Regions from separate parts of the Homo sapiens genome. Here region 2 is linked to region 1. The links are contacts of gene promoters, found by promoter capture Hi-C in human tissues and cell types (Jung and others, 2019). All regions are on one chromosome and are shown on one strand. Each heading gives the region's core, a stretch centred on a gene start or on the middle of the fragment in contact. The rest is flanking DNA. Distances are from core to core; before and after follow the strand shown. Region 1 holds the start of STX12 (syntaxin 12). Region 2 overlaps PTAFR (platelet activating factor receptor).

The links. The method cuts DNA at HindIII sites, captures the fragments that hold promoters and counts their contacts. A contact is called where the count stands out against the background at its distance.
Region 2: a fragment that was not itself captured here is called in contact with the fragment with the promoter of STX12 in region 1 in 1 of the 25 tissues and cell types used here (mesenchymal stem cells).

The regions. Positions count from the first base shown.
Region 1 is chr1:27,770,833-27,776,233 of GRCh38, reverse strand. STX12 (syntaxin 12) reads right to left here and starts at 3,015. Exons shown (of 9, transcript NM_177424.3): 1 at 2,809-3,015. The coding sequence starts at 2,926. RefSeq lists enhancers at 2,178-2,678, 2,876-3,025, 2,679-3,179, 3,146-3,295 and a silencer at 2,556-2,765. The HindIII fragment of the contact is 12,641 bases long and covers 1-5,401 here.
Region 2 is chr1:28,160,921-28,166,153 of GRCh38, reverse strand. The region is part of intron 1 of PTAFR (platelet activating factor receptor); the gene reads left to right. Among named protein-coding and RNA genes, the nearest start is that of PTAFR, 13 kb to the left of the region's middle. The HindIII fragment of the contact is 3,366 bases long and covers 1,044-4,409 here.

The DNA of each region.
Region 1 (5,401 bases), core at 1,766-4,265:
TCATACTGCCTGGAACACAGTATGTACTCAAATGTTAGCTATTAATATTACTAACAGTTGACTTAAATGATCCCCTGAGGCCCAATGCCCAATCAATAGCTAAATCTTACCAATTCTATCACCAAGGAAACCTCTCCTATCCTTTCCTTTCTTTTCATTTTCACAGCCCTAACTGGTATCTCTGATTCCAGTCTCTCCCTTTGAATTCAATTCGCACTTTCCTAAATAACTAAATCCAAGCCCCTTAGCTTAGCATTTAACATCCTTCATGTTTGGGCCACAATTTACCTTTCAATCCTTTTTTCCCACTACTTTCTGGAATCCACCACTCTAGCCAAATTAAATTACTCTTCTAGATATACTCTATGCTTCCCCACTATGATGCCTGTTCATTTTATTCCCTCCTGGAATGCTCTTCTCCTCTTTACCTTCGAAGGTCCAAATCTTTCCATCCTCTTTCCAGACATAACTCAAATGCCATAATGCCTTCTCAATTAAAAACAATCTCTCTCTTCCCAGAATACCTGCATGTTATTTATATGTCTTCTATAGCACCAATCCCTTTCAACTTTATATTTTGGTTATGAACTCTGCAGGTTCCCTGTTGAAAGATCCATGCCAGTTCTTATACTTACTACATACTCAAATAAATATATGTTGAAGGCCAGGCATGATGATTCATGCCTGTAATCCTGGCCTATTCGGAGGCCAAGGTGGGTGGATCACTTGAGCACAGGAGTTCAAGACCAGACTGGACAACATGGTGAAACTCCATCTCTACAAAAAATATAAAAATTAGCCGGGCGTGGTGGTGCACACCTGTAGTCCCAGCTACTTGTAGGGCTGAGGCAGGAGGACTGCTTGAGCCAGGGAGGTTGAGGCTGCAGTGAGCTGAGATCATGCCACTGCATACCAGCCTGGGTGACAGAGTGAGACCCTGTCTCAAAATAAAAATTTAAATTTAAATTTAAAACTGTATGTCGGATCTACCTTTGGGAGTATTCTGGTTTTATATATATATAAAATACACACGAAGATGGATAGATGGATACATGTTGAATGAATATTTCGCAAATAGATATTAAAATTAGATTTAGCTTCAACAAGAAAATTTCAGCCTTGAACTAGAATTTTCTGATCTAACCTGTATTACAGCTCCTTCACAAAAGGAAACTGGAACAAACAGTACTATACTTTCTAACCAGTGGTCATATTAATTTTTTTTACTTCTGGATTTTAACAGGCCACATATTCTTCCTTTCACTTCCAGAGTCTCAATCCCTTTTGATCAGAAACTTTCTACTTCTCAAATTCTACAATATACATTTAGATTTAAAAGCAAAGTGAGCCTGGGCAACATAGTGAGACCCCATCCCTACAAAAAATTTAAAAATTAGCCTGGCACGGTAGATGCATCCTTGTAGTCCTTGCTACTCAGCAAGCTGATCAGGAATTCAAGGTTATAGTGAGCTAGGATTGTACCACTTCACTCAGATCACTGCATTCTGCCTGGGTGACAGAAGTAGACTCTGTCTCGAAAAAATAAATTAAAAATATTTTAAATCAAAAAAATTAGGCTAGGCACAGTGGCTCACGCCTGTAATCCCAGCACTTTGGGAGGCTAAAGTGGGAGAAGTGCTTGTGCCCAGGGGTTTGAGACCAGCCTGGCCAACATAGCAAGACTTCATCTCTACAAAAAAGAAAAATTTTTAAAAGTTTAAAAACGAAAGCAAAGTGACACTCTTTAAAATATAGAATATAATTGTAATTCAGGACTAACTAGTTCTACCTATTAACAGAGTACGCCAAGCTCACAAAACAATAATAAACAACAAGGATGATGACCACCATTCTTTCCAAGTAAAGCTGCTGCTGATCTCCTGTTTATAAGGCTCCAAGATGATTTTCAAGCACAAGAAACACCCTGTATTTGACTCATTCAGCTACAGTTTCACTCAGACCCTAATGGGGAGGAGGGAGTTTTAAGACAAGCAATAGCATTCTGAATTCCACCAACAACTCTACCATGCCTTACTTGCTATGTGGTTGTGGCTAAGTGTCTTAGCTTCCCTGTGTACCAGATTTGTTCAAGAGCAGCTAAGTAGGGAAGGAAAACAAAAGCCTCATCTGCCTGAAATCCAAAAATACACCCCAATTATTTGTTACAAAAGACAAAATAATGTAAATTGAAATGCTGTTGGTGAATTCTCTTTATTAAAATGAAGTCATCCCACCTTTCAAATACCAGTCATTGTGTCTGATTTCCGAATTCATTACAGGAAGAACTGTGTATGAAGTCACCCAAACACATGCACTCTCCACTTCCCTTAATTGAAAGTTGCTGATTTCCGAGGAGCCAGGGGCTGAGCAGAATGTAAACCTAAAGGCTAAATCAGTAAACAACCCCATCCAAACTGGTCTAAGAGGAAAGCGAGGTGGGTGGGGAGGAAGGTGGGTGACAGGAGAAACTCGGCTGACCACTGCGCCAAGTCAACGCACTCACAGCTCTCGAGGTGACACACACTCCCCTTCCCACCCTCGGGCTGTCAAGTCGGCTGTTTTGGTCCCAGCACCGTGGGGGCAGAACTCCAGAGAAGCAGCTCAAGCTTCAGCTGGGGCCGGGGACCCTCGGGCAACCCGGGCCTGACAGATTGGGGGATGGCAGCCCACCGCCCCCAGGGTGGACAGCCCGAGACAGCCCCAGGTGTGGCCTCGGCCGTAGCCCCAGCCGGGCCCTGCGTCCCGGCAGCCTCACCCAGGCCTGTCCCCGGGACAGCTCCCGCCCCCCAGCTCGGTACCCCGGCTCACTGGCTTGGCTGATCCGCTGGATGTTGCCGCTGCACGTCTGGATGATGCTGCTGAAGTCCCGGAGCTGGGGCCCCGAGGGCCCCGGGTTCCGGTACATGTCTAAGGGACCGTATGACATGACGAGGAGCTGAGACCTGCTCGCTCTACACCGCTCTCCTACCGGAAGCAGCCGCCAGCCGGGACCCGCAGGCTGACGGAGAAACTGGGAAGAGCAAGGGCGGGGAAGGAGCTAAGGCTGCGTGCGCACTAGCCCCGCCCTCACGCGGCGCGCACGCGTCCTCCCCGCCCCGGTCCAAAGTGCGCAGGCGCCGCTGGGACTGGAGCTGGGACTGGAGCTGGGACTGTAGCTTAGAGACAGGACTCCCCGAGGCTTGGGGATGCAGGGCGGGGAGATGACGTCACCTAGTTGGGGCTGAGATTGGATGAGCTTGGGTGGAGGTGTTGTTTCTCGCCAGGGCACAGTGACAAGAGGCAAGAATTTTCGATTTGCATAAAACTGTACCAGATGATCTCAGCCCTTACATCCTATTCTGTTCTGAGAATTCAGGCCCAAATATGGGAGAATTCAACGTTGAAACTCAGACCCGGAACCAAATCGTAACCCGAAATTCCTCTCTACTTCCATCCCCAGGGCTTTGGTAGTGTTTGGGGTTTCCAAACCACTTTCATTTCTCCCTCCACCCCTCTTCTAATCTAAACAATAAAATAATGTTTATTGAGCACATACTATGTGAATCCTCACCGCAATTCACTTGTTCATAAGATTTTTCACAGCAGGGGACGATGCTCTATCTATATTTTTATCATTAGAATAGATAACGGAGAGTCGGTTTTTTAAATGTTGAAGTAAAGTAATTCATCAAAGTAAGCATTATTATTTTCCCTCTTACCGATGAGAAAATTAAGACCAGCGAGGTTAGTTCGCCTTGCTGAAATTTGACTGCAAAACCCAAACGCTAAGCTGACTCTCTCCTCACCTCGCTACTTCTCTAAAATTCATTCTCGTCTAAATCTCTCCCAAATAGCTCGTTCATCTATATCCCAAGCCGGGATATCTTGGAGAACTAGATTCCTAAAATTTAAAAATCGTTCCCTTAAGTAATTTGGAATGCATGACCTCAATGTTCCCACAGAAAACTGCATTTTTGTAAGCCTATGTTAAAAGGAAAGACATAGGATTTTGGTTTGGGAGGAGATCAAGATAGTGAGAAGTGAAGGGGAACTGGCTGCGTTTCCTGTGTTCTACACCCCACCCCACCCCACCCCAGCCTGCTTTGTAGTCTTTGGAAAATGCAAAGACAGAAAGCTGCTTGCCTGGATGAAAGGAGACCCAAAGTGAATGAGCCTGTATATGGCCTTAGGATTTTTTCTTTATTTTATTTTTTTTGAGACAGGGTCCCGCTCTGTCACGCAGGTTGGAGTGCAGTGGCGCGATCTCTGCTCACTGCATCCTCCTTCTCCTGGGCTCAGGAGGTCCTACCACCTAACCTCTGAGTAGCTAGGATTACAGGCGTGCGCCACCACGCCCAGCTAATTTTTATATTTTTTGTAGTGTTGGGGTTTGGCCATGTTGTCCAGGCTGGTCTCAAACTCCTGGGCTCAAGCAATCCACCCACCAGCCTTAGGATTTTTTAAGGGTGACTATCTCTATTTTTCGTTGGAGAATTTATGAGAGCATTTTTTTTCCCTGTCTCTAGAAAGAGACGGATGACATTTGGGGACTCTTATTTTGGTTATTTTATTTTATTTTATTTTTGAGACAGAATCTTGCTCTGTTGCCCAGGCTGGAGTGCAATGGCGCAATCTCGGCTCAATGCAACCTCCGCCTCCTGGGTTCAAGCGATTCTCCTGCCTCAGCCTCCCGAGTAGCTGGGATTACAGGCGTGTACCACCACGCCCGGGTACTTTTTGTATTTTTAGTAGAGATGGGGTTTGACCATGTTGGCCAGGCTGGTCTCGAACTCCTGACCTCAGGTGATCCACCCGCCTCGGCTTCCCAAAGTGTTGGGATTACAGGCGTGAGCCACCGCACCCAGCCTGTTTTGGTTATTATTATAAAACCTTACCGTTTCTTAGAATCTGTAGTTTTATGTCAAATCTTAAGCAAGTCATGTAAATTGCACTTTTTTACCTATATAATAGTACTGATGATTTTTTTCATTTACATTTGACACTATTTAAAGTGAAGTTCAGTAAAGATATTTTTCTTTTAGGAATTAAAAATATTGTTTTCTTTCTCCATGTAAAATAAAAGTGGTTTTTAGGCTGGGCGCGGTGGCTCACAACTGGAATTCCAGCACTTTGGGAGGCTGAGGCAGGCTGATCATTGCTTGAGCTCAGGAGTTCGAGACCAGCCTGGGCAAAATGGCAAAACCCTATCTCTACCAAAAATACAAAAATTAGCTGGGCATAGTGGCCTGAGCCTGTAGTCCCAGCTACTCGGGAGGCTGAGGCAGGAGTGTAGCTTAAGCCAGGGAGGCAGAGGTTGCAGTGAGCATCTCTCATAGCAGTAAATCTGTGCCTTGCAAATACTGGATGTCAAACAAACATTTATTGAATTAACACATGAATAATAAAAATAATAATTTTATCA
Region 2 (5,233 bases), core at 1,477-3,976, 390 kb before region 1:
AGGGTTTATTTTGGGTCTCTCTATTCTGTCCCATTGATCTATGTGTCTGTCTTTATGCCAGTCCAAACCATTTTGATTATTGTAGCTTTGTAATATGTTTTGAAATCAGGAGTTGTCTTTCAGTTTTGTTCTTCTTTCTCAAGATTGTTTTGACTATTTGTTGTCCTTTGAGGTTTCATATGAATTTTACAATTTTTAAAAAATTTCTGTAAAAATTACACTGGGATTTTGGTAGAATGGCATTGAACCTGTAGATCACTTTGGGTGGTATGGACATTTTAATAATATTAAGTCTTCCAATCCATGAACTTGGGATGTCTTTCCATTTATTTGTGTCATCTTCAATTTCTTTCAGCAATTTTTTTTTTTCCTAGACAGAGTCTCGCTCTGTCACCCAGGCTGGAGTGCAGTGGCACGATCTCGGCTCACTGTAAGCTCCGCCTCCTGGGTTCATGCCATTCTCCTGCCTCAGCCTCCCGAGTAGCTGGGACTACAGGCGCCTGCCACCACGCCTGGCTAATTTTTTGTATTTTTAGTAGAGACGGGGTTTCACTGTGTTAGCCAGGATGGTCTCGATCTCCTGACCTCGTGATCCGCCTGTCTCGGCCTCTCAAAGTGCTGGGATTACAGGCGTGAGGCACCGCGCCTGACCTTCAGCAATGTTTTGTAGTTTTCAATGTACAAGTCTTTTGCCTCCTTGGTTAAGTTTGTTTCTTTTTTTTTTTTCCTTTTTTTTTTTTTTTTTTTTTTGAGACAGAGTCTTGCTCTGTCGCCCAGGCTGGAGTGCAGTGGCATGATCTTGGCTCACTGCAGCCTCCGCCTCCCGGTTCAAGTGATTCTCCTGGCTCAGCCTCCTGAGTAGCTGGGACTACAGGCATGCGCCACCACGCCCAGCTAATTTTTGTATTTTTAGTAGAGATGGGGTTTCACCATGTTAGCCAGGCTGGTCTCAAACTCCTGAACTCAAGTGATCTGCCTGCCTCAGCCTCCCGGAGTGCTGGGATTATTATAGGCATGAGCCATCGTGCCTGGCTGGTTAAGTTTATTTCTAAGTATGTTATTTTTTTTGAATACTGTTGTAAATAAGATTGTTTTCTTAATATCCTTTTCTCTTAGTCCATATAAAAATCTTCATTTACAAATGAGGAAACAGAGACTCAGAATCACAGGATGAGCTTAGTGGTTGAACCAGGATCTGACCCAGCTCTCGCCCTACCAGGCGGGAGTCAGATGGATACAGAGCAGGTCATGCCATCCCTTTGTCGCATTCCCTTCCCAGCTTTGAGGAACAAAGGTAAAAGCAGGGCCCCAGGTCAAAGGCATCTCTTCCTGGGGCCTCACAGCATCTGGAGCTCCCATTCTCAGGCTGTAAGACAGGTCTGTGAGTGGACAAGCTGGCCAAGGAGCAGTTTGCTTCTAGCAGGGGACACAGCTTGTTCTAGGAGAGTCAGAATGAACCTTGGAGTTCAAAATCCCAAGTCTGCCACTTCCCCGCTGTGTGACTATGGACAAATCTATTTTCTTCTCTAGTCTCACTTTTTACCCCTAGAAAATTAGGTATCTTGTAAAACCAGCCTCACGAAGATGATCTGAGGAGGAAATATGATCATAGGCAAGATGTACTGTATACCAGTAAATGGTGCCCAGTGTCTTGAAATTAGGGGGGCTCCAGCCTCATGATCCCCACAGAGCAAGGAGTACTTGGATCCAAGAGAGTGTGCCCACTTGGAATGTGGTGTTCCCCCGCCTTCACCACTTCTAGTCCTTGCCCTGTTGGTGAATGCACCCTCAGGCCTGCGGGGCTGCAAGGAACTGCTGGTGCAGGAGCTGTGGATGAACTTGGATGTATCTTATTTATAGCTTATAAATATTTAGAATTTTGTACTTTTGACCTCAACTGGCCCCACAAATGTTAAGAGCTAGCAGGACTGGTGAACCCAACTTCCCAACCCACAATCTGGCCTGGGAAATCAACCAGCACATACCTCCTTCTGTCCATCTCCCGATGGTCCCTCCTCTCTGGCTGTCCAGCTATGGATGAGAACCCCTTCTCCAGGTTCCCTAGGGACTGGGAATGTTTCCAGCAGGGATGAGGGCCGAATGCTGCACAGGGAAAAGGGTACCAGATCCAGACAGCAGAATTCTTCTGTCTCATGAATATTTATGGCCTCTCTACCCCACCCCCAGCTGAAGGCTGTGCCTGGGCCAGCTGCCCAGCCTCGATCCATCAGGGAACTGTGCCCATGTGTTAAACTGAGTGGTCTGAGCCTCTTCTTTTCTTTCCAAATGTTCATCCTCTTCCTGAGCTGTTGAAAGCTTTGTTGCCATTAGCTGGAGGCTCTATCTGGAGCTGGCAGGAAAGCCAGTGTGTAGGTCAAAGCCCCTAGGTCAATGTTGGCCCACAGTCCCCTCCCCTGGCTCCAAGCAGCTGGGCCAGTGGGGAGAGGGAGGCTTGGTCATTTGTGGCTCAGGTCCTGTTCCAGCCACTTTGCATACTTATCTTTGAAACCATTGTTAGGATTGTAAGATTTTGCAAATGAAGACATTGAAGGTTAGAGAGGCGAGGTCACTTGCCCCAGGTCATACAGCAAGTAAATGGTAAGCCAGGTATGAACCTGTAGACCTTTCTGACTCCAGAGACCTTGTTCTCCCTAACCCACTCCACCCCAGTACAGCTCCCCTGGGGAGACTGTGCACACTTCCTTTGTGCCGGGGATTTCGGAGCCATCATCAGGGCATGGCCACTCATCCATTCATTCCTCGGTGCCCGACACTGGGATTGAAGAGATGAAAAAGATCTAGTCCCTGCCCTCAGGAAGTGCCCAGTCTGACAAGGAAACAGCCACAGAAATTAATACTTAAAACATACTGTATCAGGTGCTAGACTGAGGAATGCGCCCAGTGCATAGGGACCCAGAGAAGAAGGCAACTCATTTTGCCTGTGGCGATCAGGGAAGGCATCCCAGAGGAAGTGCTTTTTCAGATTAGGTCTTAAGATGAGTAAGATTTTTCTAGGTAAAGCAATAGGCAAAAGCAGGCTGCTGGAAAGGCAAAGAGATTTGAGGAAAAATGGAGTTTTTAGGGAAGCAGCGAGAAATTCAGTGCAGCAAGAGTAGAAAATGAGTAGCGGGGAATGGTGGAAAATAAGATGGGAAAGGAGCTTAGACTTGATCCTGGGCCAGGGGAGCCACGGAAGATGTTAGCCCAGGCAAGTGTGTGGCTGGCAGTTGTTGGGGTACAACATGTCTCAGATTTCGGTGCGTGCACGAATCGCCTGGGAATCTTATTAACATATGGAGTCTTTTTTTTTTTTTTTTTTTTTTTGGAGACAAAGTCTCGCTCTGTCGCCCAGGCTGGAGTGCAGTGGTGTGATCTTGGCTCACTGCAACCTCTGTCTCCTGGGTTCAAGCAATTATTCTCCTGCCTCAGCCTCCAGAGTAGCTGGGATTACAGGCACCCACCACCATGCCTGGCTAATTTTTGTAGTTTTATTAGAGAGGGGGTTTCATTATGTTGGTCAGGCTGGTCTCGAACTCCTGACCTCAAGTGATCCACCTGCCTCAGCCTCCCAAACTGCTGGGATGACAGGCGTGAGCCACCATGCCCGGCCAACATACAGATTCTGATACAGGAGATCTGGGGTGGGACCCAAGATTCTGCATTTCTAACAAGCTTGCAGGTGGTGCCAATGCTGCTCGTCCAAGGACCACAGTTTGAGTCCTGAGTTTGTAGAGGGCTCACTCTGCCTTGTGTGGCAGCTGCTCTGTCTGGGGAGTAGGCAATCCTGTCGGTTGCTGGGTGTTTGTTCACCTGACAAATGTTTACCAAACTTTTGCCCCAGCCAAGCTCCCTGAGTACAGGGGACGGGGAGAGGAATTGAAAATGCCACTTTCTGGTCCATGCCACCACCATCTCTGACCTCCAAAATGCTCTTGCTGTTTCCACGCTTGCTCCCTACCATCTATTCTCTACCTGACAGCTAGAGCGAGTCCGATCATGTTACTTGCCTGCTTAGCGACACTGAAGCAGCTCTCCGAGGCTCACAGAATAAAATCCCAACTCCTTACCATGGCTCAGGAGTGATCTGCAGCCAGGTGTCCTCTGATCACATCCCACTCTTCCCATTTCTCACTCCCCTAGGGCCACACCAACCTTTCAGTTTCTTGTTCCTACTTCAGAACATGATGAAATTATTCCCATTACAGGCCCTTTGCACATGATACTCTCTGGCTGGAATAATCCAGATCGTCCTCTTACTTGTTCCTTTTTTCTTTTTTAGAGTTCAGCCAGGGGTAGACACAGATTTTATAGGTTACTAAAGCTTATACAATTTGAAGGGCCCCCCTTTGAAGATACCAAATTACAAATATACAATTAGATACAGGGCCTAGGAGAGGGCCTTAAAGCTTAAGCTTCATTGACTTCATGGTAAAGCTGTCTGTGGTTTTGTTTGTATGTCACCTCCTCCAAGAAGCCTTTCCTGGTCATTCTACTTAAAACAGCCACCAGCTGGGTGCAGTGGCTCATGCCTGTAATCCTAGCACTTTGGGAGACTAAATCAGGCAGATCACTTGAGCTCAGGAGTTCAAGACCAACCTGGGCAACATAGTGAGACCTTGTCTCTATTTATTAAAAAATAAAAATAAAAAAAAAGCCATCTACCCTATCTTCATGTTACTATTTTTATTTCCTTCATTAAATTCATCACAATTTGAAATTATCTTATTTGTTGCTCCACTTATTTTTGACTGTTTCCCCCAACTAGAATGTAAGCTCCTCGAGAGCAGGAACTTTGTTTTGTTTCTGCAGTCTCCCCAACATAGTGCCCAACACCCAGAAGGATGTCAATAACTGTGAGGTGAATGCATGGACATTGTCTCTGCCTCTGGTTGGCAGAGAGGTCACATAGAGGCAATTTCAGTGGGATAAAGAGCTATGAGCTACGGAAGTCCAAAGAATGGGCACTTAACCAGACCGCGGGTGGAGCTGGGTGTGCAGGAGGCCAGGAGTCTTAGAAAGAGCTACTTGGAGGAAATGAGGTCTGAGCAATCTTAAAGAATGTTCTAGTAAACATCCAGACAATGACAAGGAAGGGAGGATTTCTTGGCAGAGGAAACAGCATGAATAAAGTAATGAAAGTGCAAGCTCTCAGGCCCAGAGGAGAATCAGCTGGTTACATTTTGGGTGATTTCAAGGGTTCTACTCATGCAAAGATACAGTGATAGGCACCAAG